6 separate regions of the Homo sapiens genome follow, and regions 1, 3, 4, 5 and 6 are each linked to region 2. The links are contacts of gene promoters, found by promoter capture Hi-C in blood cells and fetal thymus (Javierre and others, 2016). All regions are on one chromosome and are shown on one strand. Each heading gives the region's core, a stretch centred on a gene start or on the middle of the fragment in contact. The rest is flanking DNA. Distances are from core to core; before and after follow the strand shown.

Evidence for each region. The method cuts DNA at HindIII sites, captures the fragments that hold promoters and counts their contacts. A CHiCAGO score of 5 or more calls a contact.
Region 1: a contact is called between a fragment that was not itself captured here and the fragment with the promoter of CRBN in region 2, in 2 of 17 cell types (M1 macrophages and M2 macrophages). The highest score is 8.2, in M1 macrophages.
Region 3: a contact is called between a fragment that was not itself captured here and the fragment with the promoter of CRBN in region 2, in 1 of 17 cell types (M2 macrophages). The highest score is 5.2, in M2 macrophages.
Region 4: a fragment that was not itself captured here is called in contact with the fragment with the promoter of CRBN in region 2 in 2 of 17 cell types (M2 macrophages and M1 macrophages); the score reaches 6.5 in M2 macrophages.
Region 5: a fragment that was not itself captured here is called in contact with the fragment with the promoter of CRBN in region 2 in 1 of 17 cell types (M2 macrophages); the score reaches 6.9 in M2 macrophages.
Region 6: a fragment that was not itself captured here is called in contact with the fragment with the promoter of CRBN in region 2 in 2 of 17 cell types (M2 macrophages and M1 macrophages); the score reaches 7.1 in M2 macrophages.

The regions. Positions count from the first base shown.
Region 1 is chr3:4,010,639-4,014,664 of GRCh38, reverse strand. All of the region lies in intron 1 of LOC102723512 (a long non-coding RNA gene), which reads right to left. Among named protein-coding and RNA genes, the nearest start is that of LRRN1, 210 kb to the right of the region's middle. The HindIII fragment of the contact is 3,697 bases long and covers 565-4,026 here.
Region 2 is chr3:3,177,098-3,180,940 of GRCh38, reverse strand. CRBN (cereblon) reads left to right here and starts at 1,250. Exons shown (of 11, transcript NM_016302.4): 1 at 1,250-1,320. The coding sequence starts at 1,254. RefSeq lists a silencer at 1,017-1,186. The HindIII fragment of the contact is 7,719 bases long and covers 1-3,111 here.
Region 3 is chr3:3,979,669-3,983,742 of GRCh38, reverse strand. It overlaps the pseudogene PNPT1P1. Among named protein-coding and RNA genes, the nearest start is that of LRRN1, 180 kb to the right of the region's middle. The HindIII fragment of the contact is 2,993 bases long and covers 1,153-4,074 here.
Region 4 is chr3:4,048,680-4,052,967 of GRCh38, reverse strand. It overlaps a transcript of SUMF1 not described here. Among named protein-coding and RNA genes, the nearest start is that of LRRN1, 250 kb to the right of the region's middle. The HindIII fragment of the contact is 4,715 bases long and covers 1-4,288 here.
Region 5 is chr3:4,029,496-4,033,620 of GRCh38, reverse strand. All of the region lies in intron 2 of LOC102723512 (a long non-coding RNA gene), which reads right to left. Among named protein-coding and RNA genes, the nearest start is that of LRRN1, 230 kb to the right of the region's middle. The HindIII fragment of the contact is 669 bases long and covers 2,355-3,023 here.
Region 6 is chr3:4,151,275-4,155,527 of GRCh38, reverse strand. It overlaps a transcript of SUMF1 not described here. Among named protein-coding and RNA genes, the nearest start is that of SETMAR, 150 kb to the left of the region's middle. The HindIII fragment of the contact is 2,514 bases long and covers 1,194-3,707 here.

The DNA.
Region 1 (4,026 bases), core at 1,164-3,663, 830 kb before region 2:
AAATGGATGATTTGTTTTAAGAAGAGACAAGATGATTTTGAGGATGAAGCCTGCAGTGGCAGGCCATCCCTATCAACTTGGAAGAAAAAAATTCATCTTGTTCATGCCCTCATTGAAGAGGACCAAGGATTAACAACACAAACAATAGTATACACCATAGATAGTGGTTCCAACCACATTCTGTTTGAAAAATTAAAGTTGAACAAGCTTTCTACTGGATGGGTGCCAAACTTTTGTGCTCAGCTCAGCTGCAGACAAGAGCAGAGCTTTCAATGGAAATTTTAAACAAGTGTGATCAAGATCCTGGAGCATTTATTTGAAGAATTGTAACAGAAAATGGAACATGGTTTTACTGATACAATGCTGAAGATAAAGCACATTCGAAACAATGGCTACAAAGGGATAGAAATGGTCCAGTCAAAGGAAAAGCAGAACTGTCAAGAGCATAGGTCATGGCAGTAGTTTCTTTGGATGTTCAAGGCATTTTGCTTGTTGACTTTCTGGAGGACCAAAGAATGATAACATCTTCTTCTTAGGAGTGTTTTGAGAAAGTTAGCCAAAGCTTTAGCACACCACCACCTTGGAAAACATCACCAGAGAGACCTTCTCCACCACAACAATGCTCCTGCTCATGCTTCTCAACAAACTAGGGCAATTTTGCAGGAGTTTTGATGGGAACTCATTAGGTATCCACCTTACCGTCCTGATTTGACTTCTTCTGACTTCTTTTTGTTTTCTAATCTTAAGAAACCTTTAAAAGACACTCATTTTATTTTATTAACAAGTAGAAAGACTGTATAGACATGGTTAACTTACCAGGACCCTCAGTCCTTTAGGGATGGCTAAATGGCTAGTATCATCACTTAAAAAAATGTCATGAATTTGATGGTGATGGTATAGAGAAATAAAGTTTATATTTTTTATTTTTATCTTTTAATTCCATTTTTCCAGAAAAATGGTTTTAGATTTGTTACGTGGGTTTACTATGTGATGCTGAGGTTTGAGGTCTGAATGATCCCATCACCCAGGTAGTGACCATAGCACCCCATAATTTTTTGCCCCTTTCCTCACTTTCCTCCTTTCCCCATGTAGTAGTTCCCAGTTTCTATTGTTGCCATTTTTATGTCCATGAGTACCCAATGTTTAGCTCCCACTTGTAAGTGAGAACATGCAGTATTTGGTTTTATGTTCCTCTGTTAATTCACTTAGGATAATGGCCTCCAGCTGCATCCATGTTGCTACAAAGGACATGATTTCATTCTTTGCTATGGCTGTGTAGTATTTCATGGCATATATATACTACATTTTCTGTACCCAAGGGGTCCCCAGCCCCTGGGCCCCAGACTGGTACCAGTCCATGGGCTGTTAGGAACTGGGCCGCACAGCATGAGGTGAGTGGTGGGCAGGTGAGCATTACCACCTGAGCTCTGCCTCCTGTCAGATCAGCCATGGCATTAGATTCTCATAGTAGTGCAAACCCTATTGTGAACTGCACGTGAGAAGGACCTAGGCTGCATGTTCCTTATGAGAATCTAATGCCTGATGATCTGAGGTAAAACAGTTTCATCCTGAAACCATTTCCCCACCTCCCCTCCCCACCTCCATATGGGGAAAAATTGTCTTCTGCAAAACCAGTCCCTGGTGTCAAAAAGGTTGGGGACCATTGCTTTATCTGATCCACTGTTGATGGGAACCTAGGTTGAGTCCATGTCTTTACTATTGTGACTAGGGCTGTGATGAACATATAAATGCATGTGTCTTTTTGGTAGAACAATTTATTTTCTTTTGGATATGTAGCCAGTAATTGGATTGCTGGTTTGAATGTTTTAAATTTTAAGTTCTGTTCTAAGGTCTCTGATAAACCTCCAAACTGCTTTTCACATTGGCTGAAGTAATTTATATTCCCACCAACAATGTATAAGCATTCTCTTTTCTCCACAGCCTCACCAGCATCTGTTGTTTTATGATTTTTTAATAATAGCCATTCTGACTGGTGTAAGATGGTGCCTCTTTGTGGTTTCGGTTTGCATTTCTCTGATAATTAGTGATGTTGAGCGTTTTTTCATATGTTTGTTGGCCACTTGTATGTCTTCTTTTGAGATGTGTCTGTTCATGTCCTTTTCCCACTTTTTAATGATGTTATTATTATTATTTTTTTGCTTGTTGAATTAAGTTCCTTGTAGAGTCTGGATATTAGATCTTTGTCAGATACATATTATGGGAATATTTTCTCCCATTCTGTAGGTTGTCTATTTACTCTGTTGATAGTTTCTTTTGCTGTGTAGAAGCCCTTTAGTTTAATTAGGTCCCACTTGTTAATTTTCATTTTTATTACAATTGCTTTGAGGACTTAGTCAAATTCTTTCCCAAAGCTGATGTCCAAAATTGTATTTCCTAGGTTTTCCTCTAGGATTCTTTTATTTAAATCTTTAGGTCTTACACTTAAATCTTTAATCCATCTTGAGTTAATTTTTACATATGGTGAAAGGTAGGGGTCCAGTTTCATTCTTCTGCATATGGCTAGCCATTTATTCCAACACCTTTTATTGAATAGGGGGTCCTTTCCCTATTGCTTATTTTTGTTGCCTTTGTCGAAGATTAGATGGCTGTAGGTGTGCAGTATTATTTCTGGGTTATCTTATCTGTTCCATTGGTCTATGTGTCTGTTTTTGTACCAGTACCATGCCATTTTGGTTATTGTAGCCTTATGGTACAGTTTGAAGTTGGGTAATGTGACACCTCTGACTTTGTTCTTTTTGCTTAAGATTCCACAAATTTTTTAAAGTCCCTTTTTATATCAGTGTGCCTGCACATATGTGGGTGGAAAAAGGAAATGGAAATTATACTTCTTCAAAAATCTTTTCCTTTTAATGTGTTTCAGTTTCAGAGATGTGGATCGGGCTGTGGAGGATATCATAAAGAAATTCATTTGGTGTAGGGCTGTGGGGGACGGTCAAAGCATTGTTTTGAACCTATCACATGTTTAGCCTGAACTCTAAGATCTAAGAAGCATTACACCCAGCCCAGAAATGATTAAATATTTGTAATCCTGAATTTTCTACTCATTAGCTGTGAGATTTTGTACAAGTCCCTTTGCCTCTGTGGCCTCAATTTCCTGTCTAGTAAATTGTGTATGTTGGGGCTGGAGATGATTGTAGAATTTTTGACAGAACTTCTGACGGTAAGTGTATAAAAAAGACTCATTCCCTGGGGATCTATGATAGAAACTTATTCTATTATGTAATTCAGCTCTTCCAAGAGTCCACTTGTCTTTGGATTATAGCAGTTTGTGGGCCTCATTTTAGGCCATATTGCATAAGACAGGATTGAATGCCTGGTGTATTTATTTCCAGTTAGAATTATGAAATGTGAGTACTAGTAGGGACTTTGTGAGTCAGTAAATACAGCCACTCATTTTGTGTATGAAGACAGCTGAGGCTCAGATAGGAAAAACAGAGAGCTGGAACTCACAACTGAAGACTGGCTTGTAGGTCCAGTATTGTTTCTACTACACTGAGTAGTTTAAAATATCTTAAAATAATCTCTGATATAAGTAATATTAAAATTTGGAAAACATAGTGAAGAATTAGTCTCTTTATCTTCCTTTTCTAATAGGAATATCATTTTTCTAATTATAAAAACAGTACATACTCATTGTAACAAAATCCAAGCCATTCAGAAGTGCATAGGGAGAAAATGAAGGATTCACTACAATCCCAGTCTTCCATGAAAATCACTGTTAATTTGATTCACCATTTTTACGCTTTTCTCTTTCTCAAACATACATACAAAGTTAAAAATTAGTTCATATTACACATACTATTTGCGTCCTACTTCTTTTTCTTAGCAATATTTAATGGACACATGGGCAACAGATGGACATAGTTTCTTGTTAGTACTAACTTACTGTGTTTATTGTTAGAATCTTGTTAGTATCTAACTTAGTCTGCTTATTGGCTGGATGATAGTCCAGTGTGTTACTGTACTATACTTAAGCAATCGTCTCCTGATGGATATTTATATTGT
Region 2 (3,843 bases), core at 1-2,500:
CGTTAAATCATTACGTAGTATATGTAATTGTTATTAACCTCATCGTAAAAGGTGATGCTATGATTCATGTTGCAGACATTATTAACTGGAACAAATAGGCGACACTATTTGGTTCGTTCTTATTTTGCAAATGGGCGAATTGAGGCCCGCAGCCATAAGTGATTTGACGAAGACCACAGACTGATTCGGAGACAGGAGGCAAAATGACACAGGAATGATTCACAAGCCTCTGTCACAAGGGAGTTTTCTGCTTGTAACTTATCAGGGAGGCAAATTTTCTGAAATCATTTTTTCAAATCTCAGATCCATGACTTTTCTGTTGAGCAATGCTGCTGCTTCCTCTCAGCCTCCGCCCACCACCACCACTACCATGTTTAGATGTTGTATTTCATTTAAGGATTTTTCAGTTTTCCTTCCTCGCTGAAAAAGTGATACTGAAATACACTACGAAAACTTTTGTCCTCCCTCCAAAACAAATATCTTACCAGTCACAACTCCACCATTATAACAGAATTATCTTCATTTTTTACATAGTCTTTCTTTTTTGCCACAGTGACTTGTTTTTACATAGCTGAAGTCATAATGAGTAGGCTAGTTTATATTCAGACAATTTTATTTACCAATTATAAGGCGTTTTCCATTCTGTGCAATCATCATTTCAAGTATGTTTCTGATTAATACTTGTTAATTTTGGAATGTAATGTACATATATGGAAACTACTGAAGTTATTGAAGTTGTATGTACATACATTGAAACTACTGAAGAAAATCAGCAATAATTCAACCACCCTCGGAATAACTGATGGATTTCCCCAGCCTTCACATATATGCTTCTTATTTTAAGAATTGAAACTAATGCTGCATGAACAGGTTTCTATTTGCTCCCTGCCCCCTTCGTTTAAAAACAAGGTGGAGACTAAAGGCTCTCAGCCTCAGTTTCTCCATATGCAAAATATCAGGATTAAATAAGTCATGCTAAGGGCTGGAACAAAGTGAGGGCTCTGCAGCGTGTACGCCGGGCACTCAGCCGTGGATGGCAGGGGACGGCGTTCTGTCCCCGGGACGGAGCGCAGGCCTGTAATTGTCCCTCCCGCCTAGGCCATCACTTTCAGGCTTGGGTACGCGCCGCCGTCTGCTCCCCTGGGGCCGCCAGGGGGCGCTGTGGCCCCGGTGCGCGGCAGCCGCGCGACACGGGCCCTCCCTCGGAGTCTTCGGCACCGCCCTGTCCCAGCCTCCTTTGCGGGTAAACAGACATGGCCGGCGAAGGAGATCAGCAGGACGCTGCGCACAACATGGGCAACCACCTGCCGCTCCTGCCTGGTAACCGCCCGGAGTAGTTCCCTGTAGTCGGGAGTGGGGCGAGGCTCGGAGCCGCTAGCGGTGCAGCTGGGCCTGGGAGGCGGGCGTGGGGGCGCCAAGCCTGGCGAGCCAGCCCAGCAGGGCCGCACCGGAAAGCTGCTTCACGTCGGCCCTCGGCCAGCGATGGAGTCGCGGCGCTTTCTTCGCTGCTCTGTTGCCCCGAGCCGTGAGCCAGGGTGTCGGGGGGAGCATTTGCTATTAAGAACAGGAAACCCATCCTCTCCATCCTCCTTGTGTTCTGAGTTTAGCTCCTAGGAAATGCTCTGAAACTAGAGGACCGGGTCAGATTCACAGCGGTTACTTTTGCTGGTCTCCTTCCTTTTAATAAGAGTGACAGCTAACATGTACTAAGCACTTACCATGTTACGAGCCGTGCAGTTAACGCTTTGCATGCATGTCGCCTTTTAATCCTTCCCACATCAGTTTTCAGTTTCCGATTTGATAAGCGAGTATTGGATTTGCAGATTAGTTCAATGACTTGCCCAAGGTCACACAGCAGAGTCAGGATTCCAACCCGGGTGTGTCTGTCATTATATCTCTAAACCACTTCTCTGTTTTGTTTTTCTTACTATCGGTCTTTCTCAGGCATGTACGATTATGCTTAATCAGAGATACTTAGTTTTTCTTTTTCCTGTATGTTGTGTGAAATGTTTAGACTTTGGCCTTGTGTTGAAATACTGAACAAAAAAAAAAATGCATGGAATATTGCATAAACTTTTCATGGAATGCCTTTCAAGAGATGCTTTCCAAAAGGTGTATCATCCAAACTTGAAAGTATTACTTGAGTCCCTTCGTTATATGACAAGTATGTTAGGTGTTGTGGAGATGAAACGAGAGGTAATACACAATCTGATAATTGAGGTTTACTGTCTAGGCGGGGCTGCTGAGAATATAACTAAACGTAAATCAACTGCAGAGGCGGTTGATTTAGGGCCAGATAAATGAATGCTGTTGTGGCTCTTCAGAGGCAGAGGTTGTTTAAGGGTCAGAGGATTTGGGAAAAAGCCTTTCAGGTAGATCAGGAGACATCTAAAAGCACATATTTAGGATATGGTTGTGGGACATAAGGCCTAGGAGGTATATTGGGTCTAAGTTGCTGGGAAACTGGCATCTCTTGCCAGTGGGTTTGGGTTTTTCCTGTGGATTGCCAAGAAACAGTTTTAGGTTTCAGGTAATTGCCTAAAGAAATCTATGCTTGGAAGATTAATTTGTCCACTGGTAGCAGCATGGATTAAAAGAGGAAGAGACTGAGTGCGTGCCCACCATATAGGAGAGAACTTTTCTGTAAAAATAAACCATAGTCACTGGTTGTTCTCGAAGCCATTCTAGCTGAGTTGACACAAGGGTAAGTGTGCCAGCCTTTGATGGAAAGCTGAGCTATTTTTTCAGAGACATTAGCCCTACTCTCTGTGCCAAATCCGGTGTTTCAGGGAGAATGGTGAATAGAAGAGGGAGGATACTGATCTTCTGTCGACATTCACATCGTGCCTCTGCATGAGATGAGTCATCAGACTTCACTGATAGCTCTGAACAGTCAGCGTGGTTTTTTGTTTGTTTTTTTTTTGTTTGTTTTGTTTTGTTTTTTGTTTTTCAGAAAAGCGTCGGGAGAGGGCCCAGAGATGGTGTAGATATAGCAATAATGCCTCTCCAAATTACGTAAATTTTATTTGTAGGGAAACACTGGGCTTTCCATAATTCCATGTAGTACGAGTTGTTCTGAAGAGTAAATCCTCTAAGTTCCAACAAAAAGCTTTATATTTGAGATGTGAAGAGTTTATCCTAGGCAAATGAAACATTAATAAACATAACTGAGTAGGGGAAAGTGGTTTTTAGCCATATTTATGAAAAAAAGGTTACTAAAGAAATTATTTAGAGACTAGGAGTCAGAACAGTTAAAATGTAAATTTTTAACAATATTAATTCCAGCCTTTGAGCTAATAGTTTATCTTTTAAACTTTCTGTAGTAGAGCAATAAAGTGGGTTGTGCTGCATGCCAAGTGATAGCCATACTGTCAGAGTTGGAAATACAAACAATTTGATGCAGAATATTTTTGTCATCCATTTAGATAGCTCTTTTTTTATCTCAGTGAAACTTACATGTTCCAAGGAAAATTTGTATGAAGTGTTAGACCATTGGCTATTTACATATAAGTTGAAGTAATTCTGTTTTTGACAAAGTTTTATATCTAGGAAGTTGTAATAATAAATAGAAAGTCCAAGGCAGTTACCATATTGAAAATCATTTTTATTTTCTGTCAGGGGCCTGGCTAGAGGTGGTTTGACTTAAATAATGATATGCAAAGGAAAACAAATGATTATTTCGTAATGACATTTTATCGATTTAGAAGTTTATTTGGGGCATTTAAAAATACATGAACTGGGAGGTGAGAAATGAGATTCAGTAATTCTTTATTGTTAGTCTAGGCCAGGGTCTCCCAACCTCAGCACTGGACTTTTGGGCTGGAGAATTCTTTGGGTGGGATT
Region 3 (4,074 bases), core at 1,400-3,899, 800 kb before region 2:
ATGACTGATGGAGAATGTGTTGTTAACCCAACAAGAAAAGAAATGTCTTCTAGTACTTTAAATGTAGTGGTTGCTGGAGCACCTAAAAGTCAGACTGTCATGTTGGAAGCCTCTGCAGAGAACATTTTACAGCAGGACTTTTGCCACGCTATCAAAGTGGGAGTGAAATATACCCAGCAAATAATTCAGGGCATCCAGCAGCTGGTAAAAGAAATTGGTGTTACCAAGAGGACACCTCAGAAGTTATTTACCCCTTCACAAGAGATTGTGAAACATGCTCATAAACTCACTATGGAGAGACTCTATGCAGTTTTTACAGATTATGAACATGATAAAATTTCCAGAGATGAAGCTGTTAACAAAATAAGATTAGATACAGAGGAACAACTAAAAGAAATATTTCCAGAGGTCGATCTATATGAGATAATAGAATCCTTCAATACTGTTGCAAAGAAAGTTTTTAGAAGTATTATTTTGAATGAATACAAAAGATGCGATGGTCGGGATTTGACTTTACTTCGGAATATAAGTTGTGAGGTAGATATGTTTAAAACCCTTCATGGATCAGAATTATTTCAAAGAGGACAAACACAGCTGCTTTGTGCTGTTACATTTGATTCATTAGAATCCAGTATTAAGTTGGATCGAGTTATAACAACTATAAATGGGATAAAAGATAAAAATTTCATGCTGCACTATGAGTTTCCTCCTTATGCAACTAATGAAATTGTCAAAGTCACCGGTATAAATAGAAGAGAACTTGGGCCTGATGCTCTTGCTGAGAAAGCTTTGTATCCTGTTATTCCCAAAGATTTTCCTTTTGCCATAAGAGTTACATCTGAAGTCCTAGAGTCAAATGGGTCATCTTCTATGGCATCTGCATGTGGTGGAAGTTTAGCATTAATGGATTCAGGGCTTCCAATTTAATCTGCTGTCACAGGTGTAGCAATGGGATTGGCCACCAAAACCGATCTTGAGAAGGGTGAAATAGAAGATTATCATTTGCTAACAGATATTCTGGGAATTGAAGCTTACAATGGTGACATGGACTTCAAAATAGCTGGCACTAATAAAGGAATAACTGCATTACAGGCAGATATTAAATTACCTGGAATAACAATGAAAATTGTAATGGAGGCTATTCAACAAGCTTCAGTGGCAAAAAGGAGATTTTACAGATCATGAACAAAGCTATTTCAAAACCTCAAGCATCTAGAAAAGAAAATGGACCTGTTGTAGAAACTGTTCAGGTTCCATTATCAAAATGAGAAAAATTTGTTGGACCAGGTGGATATAACTTAAAAAACTTCAGGCTGAAACAGTTGTAACTATTAGTCAGGTGGATGAAGAAACGTTTTCTATATTTGCACCAACACCCGGTGCTATGCATGAGGCAAGAGACTTCATTGCTGAAATCCGCAAGGATGATCAGGAGCAGCAATTAGAATTTGGAGCAGTGTGTACTGCCACAATAACTGAAAGCAGAGATACTGGTGTAATGGTAAAATTATATCCAAATATGATTTTGGTACTGCTTTATAACACACAACTTGATCAATGAAATATTAAACATCCTACTGCCCTAGGATTAGAAGTTGGCCAAGAAATTCAGGTGAAATACTTTGGATGTGACCCAGCTGATGGAAGAATGAGGCTTTCTCATAAAGTGCTTCAGTCTTCAGCTACAACTGTTGTCAGAACTTTGAATGACAGAAGTAGTATTGTACTGGGAGAACCTATTTCACAGTCATCATCTAATAATTCTCAGTGATCTTTTTAAAGAGAATTCTAGAATTCTATGTTTTCTAGGGTAATGTGCTATAGAGCAAAATTTTAGTAGTATCTTCCGTTGTGTAGCTGTGTATACAGTATAAATATATTCTAATTATTTGTATTAAAATGCTCATTTACATGTGCCAATTTTTAAATTCAAGAGTAACCCATATTCGCTTAATCTTATTTACATTATAAATCAAGAAATATTATTAAAAGTAAGTCATCCATACATCTTAGAAAAGATTACATACTTTTTTTTCTATAATTCTGAAATATATGAAAAACTTAGATATATGTCATATATGTTATTATAACAGATCTCTTCCTATATCTCATTTGTCTTCTTTATATACAGTAGTGACAATTTACCCTCAGTCATCCTATAGCTCACCTCTTTGCCCAACAACTTTACTTGCCTACGACTGTTCACAAACTGGAACAGGCCATATTCAAAGCCAGTGCCTATTTCTTCAGAATGGTTACTAGACATAGTAAGTTGAGGGAGCTAATCTGATACACTTTTAATAATACGATGCCTTCCAAGTTGGTTACAAAATCATGAACATAGTGGAATAAATATAAATGAGATTCTAACTAGGATGAGGTAGTAATTATGTATATTTTTCAAATTTACCTAAACATAGGAAAATTATTTACTTGTCTAATTGAACTAGGTCACTTTTTGAATATGTATATTGCTCTAATGTATGGAAGTTCTTAGTATAAGAGCTGGAGGAATCATCACTTTCAGTTAATAGATGTTTGAAATAGATGTTTAGAGGTTACTGATATACATGTCAACTTGTTCATTCCCATCATTTAAAATATCACCTTATAATTCCACACAAAAGTAAATGGTATGTGGACGTCATAATTTAGAATATGTTATCTTTTTAAAAATCTTATAAAAATACACCGGACTCAGTGGCACATGCCTGTAGTCCCAGCTACTTGGGAGGCTGAGGTCGGAAGATCACTTGAACCCAGAAGTTCAACACTGTAGTGTGCAATGATCATGCCTGTGAATAGCTACTTCACTCCAGCCTGGACAACATAGCAGGACTCTATCTCTAAAAACAGTTTTAAATCTCATAAAAAATAAGTAAATCTGGCCGGGCATGCTGACTTGTGCCTGTAATCCCAACACTTTGGGAGGGTGAGGCGGGTGGATCACCTGAGGTCAGGAGTTCGAGACCAGCCTGGCCAACATGGCAAAACCCTGTCTCTACTAAAAATACAAAAATTAGCTGGGTGTGGTGGCAGGTGCCTGTAATCCCAGCTACTTGAGAGGCTGAGGCAGGAGAATCTCTTGAACCTGGGAGTTGGAGGTTGCAGTGAGCTGAGATCACGTCACTGCTCTCCAGCATGGGCAAAGAGAGTGAAACTATCTCAAAAAAAAAAAAAAAAAAAGTAGGTAAATTTATGACTCAGGGCTAACTAGTTCATAAAATATTAAAAGTTTAGCTGGTTAAACCAAAGATTTTAAAGATATGTATATTTATATCAAACATTGATCATGTATCTATTGTGTGTAAAACAGCATGTTAGGCAATGTTGATATACTTTCTGAAATATTAAAGATTAATTGAAATTGAAAGATTAAATTAAAAAAAATATGTCATTGAGATGAGTGATCAGGAAAGGCCTCTTTTTTAGAAGTGACATATAACATGAGCCCGGAATTATAAAAGGAACCAGCCTTTCACAATGAAAAGAGCACTCCTGACAGTGGGAGCAGCATGTACAAAGGTCCTGCACTAGAAAAAGCGTGGTATGTTTTGAGAATTTAGAGAGTTCAGTATACCAGGAGCAGAGGGGTCAAGGAAGAAGGTGGCACGCCATGAGATTAGAGAAGTAAGCGGACAAATAATGCCTGATCTTATAGGCAATGGTGAGGGGTTTGGATTTTATTGTAAACGGAATGTCTTTAAAAGATCACTCTGGCTACTGTGTGGCAAATGAACTGGAAGTGGAAAAATCAGAACAGAGAGAGAGGTTAGGAGGCAGTCCAGGAACAAGATGTTGGTGGCTTGGACTAAGGTGGGGTCAGAGAAAGTGGATAGATGTTTTCGAGATACACTTAGGAGGTCTTACTGATGGTTGGCTGTAGGGAAAGAGTAAAGAAAAGATACCAATTCAAGGCTGACACTGGTAAGATGATAGTTCCATCTAGTAGATAGAGAACAAGCAGGGAGGAACAAGTCTGTAGTGGGAAGGATGGGGGGTAGATGTTTACATTTGCACATGTTAAGTTTGAGCGGCCTGGGAGACCCAGAAATAGAACTGTTGATTCTAAGT
Region 4 (4,288 bases), core at 1,019-3,518, 870 kb before region 2:
GTCTTGAAGGACATTAAAAGTGCCGCTCTAGTGAATACATGAGTGGTAAGAGAGCAAACAGTCTTACTGCTGATATGGGGAATGTTTGAGTGGTCTGGATGGAACATTAAACCACATACAACATTTCTTTAAGCCAAAGCCTAATCTAGAGCAAGTACCTAACTCTGGAAAACCAAAAAATTTGTATGACTCACTTTATTGTGGTCTAGGACCAAACCCACAATATGTCCAAGGTATACCTGTAATAATTGTTCTGCCTATCTCTTGAGGGTATCACGAGAAGAAGATTATGTGGACAAAAACAGTAGACAAAAAATGCAAAGAAAATAGTGGATGGGTAAGTAGTAGTTTTCTTAAACGTAACTTATTAGCACATAGTCCGGGAATATTGCATTTGAGAGGGCAACATTGCTTCTCCAGTAGCTGTTTGTTGTTAGAGTAGTTCCACTTGAAGCATGCAGGAGCTGCAGTTTCTCTGGGAGGCATGAGATGGGAGGGGAAAGCATGTATGTCCAGAGCAGTGGGCTAGCCCCAAGCTCTAGTCTTTGGTCAGTTCTAGGAAGGGGCAGATAAATACATATAAACTTTTTGCTGTGCTTGAATATTTGTGTCCTTGCCAAATTTATATGTTAAGTTCCTAACCCCTAATGTGATGATACTGGAAGGCCTTTGGAAGGTGATTACATCATGGCAGTGGAGCCCTTATGAATGGGATTAGTGCTCTTGTAAAAGAGACCAAAGAGAGCTGCCTTGCCCCGTCCATCATGTGGAGACACATTGAGAAGGTGCCATCTGTGACCTTGGAAACAGGGAAACAGGCTCTTACCAGATACCAGATTTTCTGGTGCCTTGATCTTGGACTTGTTAGCCTCCAGAGCTATGAGACAATAAATTTCTGTTGTTTTAAGCCAACCAGCTTTGGCATGGTGATATGGCAGCCTTAGGAAACAAGTACAGGTTGCTATGAAGATAGAGTAAGACAGAGAACCAAAACCATTTTGAGAATCAAAGTGCCCTATGGTTGTTAGTTGATACTTTCTTGGTTTACGTCACTCATAATCTAAAGTGCAGTACTGACCTTACTCAGACCGGTTTACCACTTAGGCTGCAGGGGTAGAAAAGAAGGAAGAAAAGCAAACTGATCAGACAGCCAGGTCTTTTCCGATGTGCAAACCAGTCTACATTCTTATGATCCAGTGGCATGAAAAGGAGAGAAGACAGAAGTGAACATGTAAGTGGTGATATTTTATTGCCTAATAGCCCCTCTGCTAACAGGCATGGCTAGTGTCCTGGAATTGAGACTTGTCCTTGAGGACTGTCAAAGATGGTAGGAGGGAGGAAAAAAGTGGGAGCCTTCTCTCTCTTAGGCATTTACATGGTACGTCTATTTAGAAACGTTACAACTTTAACATGTGCTTCTCCCCTTGCCTGTAGAACATCTGTATGGAGGCATAAGTAGGAGTGGGAATACAATAATATTTAATTTGGGGATTTTTTTCCTTTACAGCTCCTTGGATCGCACACTTGAGCGAGTGTGGACAGTAGAGGAGCAGGAAGGCTGTGCATCACTGGACAAAACCACTTTCTTGGGGCTCTTTGTCCTGTGACTTAGTTACAAAGAAAAGAACGTAGGAATGTACAACACTGTGATCCTGCACCAGGCCCTATGCTCAGGAGGGATGTGGAGATAGGAAATAAAGCAGAAGGGTAGAAAAACTGTGGTAACTTGTATAGCCTATTGGATGGGGTGGTTGGTTCTGCCTGGGAGGAACAGGTAGTTTCCAGTTGTTTTAGGAGCTTTCTTCCACTGCTTTCCTTTCCCCACCCTTTTTTTTTTTCTTTTTTTTGCCTTAGAATGTAGTATATTTAGCCCTGTTCAAATTACTTGAGTACTCGCATTGCAGGGATATGTGGGTAGTTGTGCGCAGCAAGTCATTTTAGCGGGTAGACAATCAACAATATCAGCAAAATAAAACGTCAAGTTTAGAGGGTGAGTGCGTAGTTTTCTCTCACTTATTAATATATTTGGAGGAATTAAATTTTCTTACATTTCTAAAGCCCATACTTGGATTTGAAGATTATGTTTCTTAGAAGGCTAATATTTAGTGATCAACTGTTTGTGCCAGGCCCTATGATGGGTGCTTTCATGTACATCATTACATTTTTCTTTTTCTTTTTCTTTTTCTTTTCTTTTTTCTTTCTTTTTTTTTTTTTTTTTTGAGACAGGGTCTCACTCTGGTTGCCCAGGCTGAAGTGGAGTGCAGTGGCATGATCTCGGCTCACTGCAGCCTCCACCTCCCAGGCTCAGGTGATTCTCCCACCTCAGCCTCCTGAGTAGCTGGCAGTACAGGTGTGTGCCAACACACCTGACGAATTTTTTGTATTTTTAGTGGAGACGGGGTCTTGCTATGTTGCCCAGGCTGGTCTTGAACTCCTGGACTCAAACAATCCACCCACCTCAGCCTCCCAAAATGCTGGGATTACAGGCATGAGCCACTACACCTGGCCATCATGACAATTTTCAAAGCCCCTCTGAAATTCTATTTTTATTCCCATTTTACAGATAAGGACATTGAGACCCAGAAAGCAACTGCTCAAAAGTCTAGGGAAAGACTCTAGCAATTTCAGTGATTTTATAACAATAGATTGCCTTGGAGATGTATTTTTTTTTTCGGAAAGTAGGTCAGGTTCTAAATGGATCATTTAGAACGGACAGGAGATAGGGAAATACTGGGTAGAAAAGGGTGGTTCCCTGGCAAGTGCCCCACTATCAAGCCAGGATACTCATGCCCCTAAATGGAGACAGGCATTCCTGTTTTCATGCCCAAAAGCTGCCTTTTGGCTCACCACAGCCCCTATCCTGTACCCATGTAAACCCCAGACTGCAGGCTCCAGAAGCAGACAAGGAGAAGAGTAGACAAGTGGCAGAATGGCGTGGGAGAGAGAAGAGAAGGGCCATCCGAATGCTGAGAGAAGTTTGGCTGGGGATGGTCAGAGAGGAGATTGGCTACTGGATGGCCAAACTCCAGGGGAAGAACATCTTCCCACTCCATCCCCCTTCCAGCTCCCCATTCGTCTCATTGAGAGCAATTTCCACCACTCAATAATACCCCCACATTCATCCTTCAAGTCTGTATGTGACCTGACTCTTCTGGGATGTTGGACGAGAGCTTGGGTACAGAAAGCTGTCACACTGGCCCTCTGCCATTGTGAAAAGGCAGAGAATTCACTGAGCTGGTTAACAGATAAGCTGCCCGCGAATGGCAAGGCTGAAAGAGTACACTGTAACACAGCCCATTTGGGCTTTGGGAGTTGCAGGCTCTCAACCCTGAATGCTGCCCTGGGGCTGGAGCCCAGGGGTGCTTACTCTGGCTCCTGAACCTACCTGTCTGCATGCTCCCCTCACATAAGGGGTTTGAGGAGCAGTGGTTACTGAACAGATGAGTCACATCCCTGTCTCACGTTCAGCAAGGGGTGTCAGGGAATTCTCCCATTTCAATTTCTCAGTGTTTTCTCCTACGCAGTCTGTTGTGGTGGTGGTCATTAGTGCCATCCAGCAAATATTTTGGCATGAGCTCCCTGCTGTGGAGTAAGAGGGCATTTCATCACTTTCTTGAAGGTAGACATAGACAGTGAAATACGAGAAGAAGTGATACAGCATTACCTCCAGTAAAAGCTGTGAGAGCTATTGAATTATTTGCCTTTGCCCCATTTTCCTTCTGCCATGGCAACTGGAAATGCTCTGTTAGCTTAGGTCCTGGAGTTAGGATGATGTAGAACAATGACCTCAGACAGCCTGCAATGTCTGTGTAGTGCAAGTGAGAAACAAACCTTTTCTTTAAGCTGCTGTGTTTATCATAGCAGCATAGCTTAACTTATTTTGACTGATACACTTTTGTGACATGGGTTTCATGCTCCCCATGGCTTTCAAATCTATATCTGTTAGGTTAGAAAACTCTTCTGTGGTCATCTTATTCTATAATTAAATCCAAGGCCTACTTAGAAGCCTTGGATGTTACAGAGTTTCAAATGGTACAGACAGACTGATAAGCAAAATTTATCCAGTAAATGTTTATTGAGTTCCTATGAAGTGCAGAACATCATGAGGGATCCAGAAATAAATTAGGTTGGTAACCTGCCTCAGAGAAATTAGAATCTAGCAGGGAAGGGCTCTATTTATGTATTAAATGTATGCAATGAAATGTACATGGTTTGTGCATTTATTCAAATATACTTGTATAAGGTCCATGACTACTGTATTTGTCAAGTGTTGGGGATTTTGTAGAGC
Region 5 (4,125 bases), core at 1,440-3,939, 850 kb before region 2:
GAATGAGATTTTACTCTGTGTGCTGGGGACATTCTAAGTACTTGACATTCCGTACCACAATTCCTTTGCTGCCATAACAAATTACCACAGCCTTAGAGCTTGACACAACAAAAATCTACCTCATAGTTCAGTAGGTCAGAAGTCCAACACAGGTCTTGTTGGATTAAATCCAGGTGTTACGAGGACTGTATTCCTTTCTGGAGGCTCTAGGGTAGAATCTGACTCCTGCTAATTCAAGTTGTTGGCAGAATTCAGTTATTTGCTGTTACAGGTCTGAAGTCCCTGTTTCCTTGCTGACTGTCAACTGAGTACTGTTTCTAGCTTCTAGAGGCCACCCACTTACCTGTGGCCACCTTCCTCAGTCCTCAGAGCCAACAAGTGTGGGTTGAATCCCTCTCATGCTTTGGAACTCTCTGGCCACTTCTCTGACTTTTCTGCTGCTTCTTCCACTTTTAAGAGCCCATGTGGTTAGATTGTGTCTACCCGGATAATCCAGGACAATCTCCCTATTTAAAGATCTGAAACCTTAATTTCACTTTCAGCATCCCTTTTGCTATGTAATATGACGTGTTTACAGGTTCTGGGAATTAGGACGTAGACTTTTTTGGGGGACGGGGACATTGTTCTGCCTATCACATATTCATTGTCTCACTGAATTTTCTCAGTGTCTCTATTTCATTGTTCCCATTTTACAGATGATAAAAGAGAGGCCTAGTGAGGTTAAATAACTTGCCGAGGGTCCAATTGATGGTAAGTGGTGAAGCCAGGAAACAAATCTAGGGACTTTGCTTATAGAATATGCTTAGTTTAGAACTATACTACATTGGGCTTATAAGATGAGCTCTAGTACCAGGGCCAGGAATCCCTTTTCTGTGTTTATGACCTTGGAAAACTGAAAAGGAGAAAAAGACTGGCTTGGATTTAACAACTTGGGAGATTTAATTTCCCACAGAAGGTCAGAGAGCCAAACAAGAGCTCTCAAGTCTGTCTCAAAGATGTATGTTTCTGACCAAGTCTTTTTGACGTAGGGCACGAACACCATCTTATTGCTCATTTCGCAACTTTCTCTCAATTTCAGACCTTTTCCATTCTAACTTTCTCACCGCCGAAACTCACAGGAAGTTGGAGGAAACATTATTAGGAACAAGAATTTACCTCAGCAGATATATAGAATACCTCATAGGGTTACATCTATTACCTATTTAATACTTACCCTGTGATAAATACCTTACTTAGTGACCCTGTAGGTAGACACTATTAACAGGCGGAGCTTACAGACAAGGAAACTGAGACACTGATAAGCAAACTTGTTGGAATTTCACTCTTGGCAGCCTGATGCCAAACCACTACACTCTGTGATCACTGTAATCTTCTCTTATCAGATGAAAATATTTGTATCTTTTTTTTCCTGCTCTTAGTAATTTCCATACTTTGCCTTTAACTGAGCTATCTGATACCAGACATCTTGGCATTCAGGCTGCTCTCCTATGTCCATCTGGATGCTATGATAATAGAGCCTCCATACCTCTAGGCCAGGCAAAGGAGAAAATAATTTTAAAACAAGGAGTTTGCAGACTATCACCTGGTGGCTCTGTGATTTGGTTTCTCTGTGTCCCTACCCAAATCTCATCTTGAATTGTAGCTCCCATAATCCCCACATGTTGTGGGAGGGACCTGGTGGGAGGTAATTGAATCATGGGGGGTGAGTTCCCCCACACTGGTCTTGTGGTAGTGAATAAGACTCACGAGGTCTGATGGTTTTATAGGGGGAAACGCTTTTCGCTTGGCTTTCATTCTCTCTTTGCTGGCCTCTATGTAAGATGTCCGTTTGTTCTTCCTTGCTCTTGTGCCATGATTGTGAGGCCTCCCAGACATGTGGAACTGTGAGTCCATGAAACCTCTTTTTCTTTATAAATTACCCAGTCTTGGGTATGTCTTTATCAGTAGAGTGAAAACAGGCTAATACATTCTGTTTTTTTCATATATAAATGCAAGGTATATTCATATATTATATATATTTTATATATATATATTATATATATATTATATACACACACACACACACACACACACACATACTCCTCTCCCTCTATATATATATATGTATGTGTATATATATATGTATGTGTATATATATGTATGTATATATATGTATGTATGTGTATATATATATACATACATACATACATATATATATTCCATTAGCTCTGTCCCTCTAGAGAACCCTGACTAATACATTTGGCATGTTTTAATTTGTTTAATCTACTCAATATCTATTGGGGTAGTTGTTGCTATTATTTCCATGTTAAAAGTAAAGCTAATTTACTTCTTCAAGGTCATGCATCTGGTAAGCTTGGGACTAGGTTTTAACCCAGGCTATTTGACTCTTAGGACTGCATCCTCACCTAAGACTCAATAGCATTATTTCCATTCTGTAGCTGAGCTAATTAAGATCCAGAGTGAAATTAAGGTTTGTTATAGGCCACCCAGGTGGCAATTCTAGGACTCTGACCAAGTTTTCTGCCTTCTATTTGGAGGCAGTAATGATACATCAGAATTATATGGAATCAGAGAGAGAGTTCAATTCACATCATGGATCTGTTGGACAATAAACTTGAGGCCTTGGGTAAATCATGGATATTCTCTAATCTTTAACTGACTCAGGTAAAAAATGGGGGCAATCATACCTATTTCCTTAGGTTATCAGCAGAATGGAGATAATGCTTGTAAAATGTCTTGCATGAAGTGAGTAAACAATAGCTGTTATTATCAGTCAGTGTTCTTTCCACTACACCAGCTGCCTCTCTAGAAATAATTGAGCAACTCTCAATTATTTTTAGCATGAGCCATAGGCTGTTGGCAGGCACTACCTGATAAACCAACATCAGCATAGGGGAAAGGCTCAGAGATATGTCCCAGACCTGAGAAATACAGTGGCTGAGACTAGGATACCTAGTAAGGTTCCAGTGAACTTGATATATCTAACGCAGTCAAAGCTGAGAATTGGGGCTTATTAATAAGCTTCATCCTCTTTCCTTAGCTGTTTTCCTAGATGAGTTTCTGGTAAACAGGATTGCTCATTATCTTTTCTGGTGCATATAAGCTCCCTCCTATAAGATGAGATTCCAAAGGCAGTTCTGGAAAGCTGAGCAAAATGTGGTGTTGAGGAAGTGGTGAAGGCTGAAGATTGTTCTTTGTGTCACATTATAAGTATTGGAGTAGATTACTGAAATACATATTGGTGGTTAGTTTCTAAAGCACGATCCCTTGAATGAACATTGATGTGCCCCAGAAACAGAGTTCTGTTCAGAATGATTTATGGTCCGTGGTGCTATGGTGTGATCTGAATTACCTTTGAAAGGAAGAGCAGATATCAAATGAATTTAGAGGATAGAAATAGGTGGATAAGCATAAACGCAGAAATGTTCCAGGTTTCTCAGTTCCTTGCAAGGAGACTTTTGGGGCATACCTGAAGCTCTACTACCTGACACTTACTGGCACTGAAGGTTAAACTGTAGAAATGTGTGAATTGTCTGCTCCCTTCTGAGGTTTGTGTATTTCTCTTTCCGCCAGTCTTTCCCTCCTAAAAAAGGAAAAAAACAAGAGGAGTAGAAGGAGGCTCAGAAATAGTGACATCTAGCCTGTCTTGGTGGCTGCTTTTCAATAACATGAACTAACGTACAGCTCTTTTAGATGTGTTAGGCATCTCAGGCAGAAGAAATGATCAAGTCCGTCATATCCAACTTGATTTTTTTTTTATCGAAATGAATTCCAAAAAGCCGTCCTGTTGGTAAGGTAGGTACCTCTATAAGCTCTGGACTCAAGTGGATCTACCTATCTCTAAATCCTACCTCTGTCACTTAATAGCTATAAGTCTATGGGAAAGTTACCTTATTTCTCTAACCCACAGTTTCCACATCTGTAAATTGGCAATAATCATAGTGCCTATCTATTACATAGGCTTATTATAAAGATTAAAGATTAAATTAGAAATATACTACTTAACAATATCTAGTCTGTAGTACACATTCGGTGTTATCTCCTGCCCCAATTCTATGGATGTATTAATCTTGGCAAGTTACAATGGGACTAGTTTATTCTACTTTTCTTGTAGGGTTAGTATTT
Region 6 (4,253 bases), core at 1,201-3,700, 970 kb before region 2:
TTTTCTGTAACTTACTGCTGCCAGGAGGGAAGGAGCCGTCCCTTATCTCCTTCCTTTTGCTTCAAAGCTCCTACGTCCGTGTTTGACATGAGAACATCGCATGCCTAAAGGAGCTGGGAAAAGCAAGTACGTAGCATTTTCCATTCATATGAAGAAGGAATTTTTGCTCCCCTTCCCTCATTAGGACTCATTAAGTGGAGATTCCTCAAACATGGAAAGAGTGTCTGAATCTAGGCAGCAAATATCTACCATACCTGTTTCATGTCATTAATACCACAGGGCTTCCTTCCTCTGCACATGAACCTAAGCACAGTACCTTAATTGGCATAGGACTGGCCTGCAGGGGTGAGAAAGTCAGCCCTCCATCACAAAAGCATGCCTCATGTCAGGAGCTATAGAAAGAAGGTTGATGTCTCAACAAGATGATAGGTCCCTAATGTCTTCCTCAGCAAACCCTGTGCACCCCTTTGAATGAATGTCACCTATGTTCCTTTCAAATTGCCTTTTTGAAGTCTGCCAACATAAAACTAAAAGGTACATCTCCTTTCTCTGCTGAGCCCCAGCAGTTTTCCCTTACCTGAGTTTACAGTGATCTCCTTCCTTGCTGACCATATGACAATTTTCAGAGAGGGTCTTACTTCAAGTTGCAGTCATATATCAAAAAAAGCTGTAATTTTGATGTATTCTGGAAGTGGGATGCGGTGGTTGCCCAGATATTGGCTGGTGAGCATCCTCATCTTTCCTCCTACAATGCAGTTCTTAGAAAAACTCTTATTTAAAAATTATCAGTCTATGGACCTGTTTTCTTCAGCAGAGGGCACACAGTAGGCAATCAAGAAATATTTTTTTGAATAGATGAATGAGGCAGTGTGGATGCCTCAAAAGAGCCCAGGTTTGGGGGACAGATCAACGAGAGGTTGAATTCTGTTTCAGTTACTTCATAGCTATGTGACCTTTGATAACTCACTTAATGGCAATGAAACTCATTTATTCATCTATAAAACAGAGATAATAGTCCCCAGCTTGTAGGTTTGTGGCAAGGATCAGATGAAATAATGTATGCAAAGTGACTGGAACATAGTTGGTGCCCAATAAGTGTTAACTATCTTATTATTCATGCTGGAGTGGTAATTCTTTAAATTTTAAGTGAATAAATGAAAAATGAATGAAATTCCATTGATGGGTGGAAAGCTTCCTAGTGGGTTCCTGGTGAGGTTAGTTTCCCCAGGATTAGAGTCACTTTATGTGATGGTTGTGAAGGAGAATAAAAACACTGTAATTCAGACCCAGAATCCACCATCATGCCTTTCTCCATGCTGCCAGTTCTTTCTGGAGTAGCTCTGCCCCACTTCCTGGATACCTCCACACATTCTACCACATGTAGCTCAGGAGTCACCTCCTCCTCTGAGAAACCTTTCTGGACATCTCAGTCTAGGTTTGGTGCCATGCCATTCCATTTAATTCTGCCATAGTCCATGTTACAGTGTTCAACTAGACTTGGGTCACTAGCCCCAACTGCCTGACTCTTTGCAAGTTGAAGGAATGAATGGGTGGATTGTTGTCCAAATTGTGCAAACAGATCTGATGCCTTAGGCGGGAGTCCTAACCTAAGCTCCAATTTCCTCAGTAAGATAAAGATGGAACTTGACCTCCCTGCCTCCTAACAGACTTAAAAATATATTTCTTTAAAAAATTTTATATTAAATTATTCTAAAAGCAATTGTAGGCAACAATAATTTCTATACAATCATGTTGCTGAATACAACATACAGAAATGGAATATGTTTTACAATAACTATACAAAGGAGGTGAATGGTAATGTAGTTATGTTGAAATAAGGAAATAACACCAGTTTTTAACTGAAATCCATAGGCAAAAAGTGAAAATGAAAATGGTAAATAAGAAAGTTAATATTTTTTAGGGCTTGAATATATTTTTTATTTATAAGGAGTTCCTCTGTCATTGAACAGTGGAAAAACTGGAAATACAGTAAAAAAAAAAAAAACCTACAAGGCGGGGCATTGTGGCTCACACCTGTAATCTCAGCACTTTGGGAAGCCAACATGGGAGGATTGCTTGAGGCCAGGCATTCAAGACCAGCTGGGGCAATATAGGAAGATCCTAACTCTACAAAAAATAAAAATAAAAAATTAGCTCGGCATAGTGGCATGTGCCTGTAGTTCTAGCTACTTGAGAGGTTAAAGTGGCAGAATTGCTGATTCCAGGAGTTCGAGGCTGCAGTGAGCTATGATTGCTTACTGCATTCCAGCCTGGGCAACAGAGTTACATCCTGTCTCTAAAAAAGAAAAAAAAGAAAATCCTCAAGTAATTGATCAAATATATGTTTCTGCTCAATTTTTTAAAAATTTTATTGTATGTATTTACGGTGTACAACATGATGTTTTGATATATGTATCCATTAAACTTTTTGAGGATCAGAAGTGATTGTAGCTGTAACTTTGCAGGGTTCTGAGAGCTCGCTTGCAGTTCTCAGAAGAATAGGGCTTGGTTTAGGACCAGGCTTTTTGCTTAGCTTATGCCAAACAACTAGCTTTTATTGTGTTGGGTGGAGACTGCAAGCTGACCAGATACCAAATATCTCTGCCAGGGAGAGAGACTAGGGATGTATAAGGTATTCTGAAAATGTTTTCTTCTGTCTATCCATGAGTCCATCAGTAACAATGATATTACTCAATAGCGCTTTTGGAGTTAAGTGTCTGGGGTTTTGTTTGAGAGGTGGGGTTGGGTGCAGAAGGTGGGCTGAATTAATGGTTGTTACTAGCCTCAGGACAGCCTTGGGCTGCATGAAGCATTGGTCTAGCCAAGTGTAGACAGTTTGATTTATAGAAGTAAGTTATTTGTATTGAAGCTCATGTATGAGATAAGTTATGGAGCTGATCCACATACTGTCACTTCTGTTTTAGAAACCACACTGGGCCAGGCACGGTGGCTCATGCCTGTAATCCCAGCACTGTGGGAGGCTGAGGAGGGAGGATCACTTGAGCCCAGGAGTTTGAGACCAGCCTGGACACTATGACGAGACATCAGAAAAAGAAAAAGAAAAAAAAAAAGCAAATCCGGGTGTTGGGGCCTGTGCCTGTAGTTCTAGCTACTCGGGTGGCTGAGGTGGGAGGATTGCTTCAGCCTGGGAGGTGGAGGTTGCAGTGAGCTGAGATTGCACCACTGCTCTCCAGCTTGGGCAACAGAGCGAGACCCTGTTTCAAAAAACAAATAAACAAACAAAATCCAGACTGCTCTTCTAGACTGTCCAGAAAGTGACTTCTTGAATAAACCCTTTCCTATCTCTCACTGCTTTGTGCCAGGCAAATTTCTAAGTTCATTTCAAACATTAAAATTTTTCCAGTTCTGTGTTCTTTGCACTGCTCCCTTCCCCAGTGTAGTGCTTCTGTATGATCCTAATCTTTATTAACCTTTATGGCCCATAGTCTGGTCTCGGGAATATTGGTTATTTAGATATTGATGTGAGGTTACATTATGAATGCTTGTATTTTCATCATATTAATACTTGAACTGAATTGGGGAACAAAGGTCATTGTTTCCCATTAGCAGGATTTCAGAAACCATCCAGCAAGTACAGGAGAATTTTGAGATGATAGAAATGGCTATTTACCATGCTTACATGGGAAGGTCAGTTATGCCTGGAGTTGTCGTACCTGTCCCAGTGCATCTTTTCTCTATATCAAGCTTGTCTAACCCATGGCCCACAGGCTGCATATAGCCCAGGTTGGCTTTGAATGTGGCCCAACACAGATTCATAAACTTTCTTAAAACATTATGAGATTTTTTTGTGATTTTTTTTTTTTTTAGCTCATCAGCTATTATTAGCATATTTTGTGTGTGGCCCAAATCAATTCTTCTTCTTCCAGTGTGGTCCAGGGAAGCCAAAAGTTTCGACACCTCTGCTCTATATACTTGCATGTGTGTGTGTGTGTGTGTGTGTGTGTGTGTGTATATACACACACATATATATACACATATATACATATATACGTATACATATACACATATATACGTATATATACACATATATACATATATACATATATACACATGTATACATATATACATATATACACATGTATACACATATATACATATATACATATACATATATATACATATATATACACACATGTATATATATATATTGTGTATGTATATTTATGTTTTTCTTCTTCCCTGTAGGGAGAAGCACCCCAGACTAGCAGCAGCACTCCATATTTACATGTATA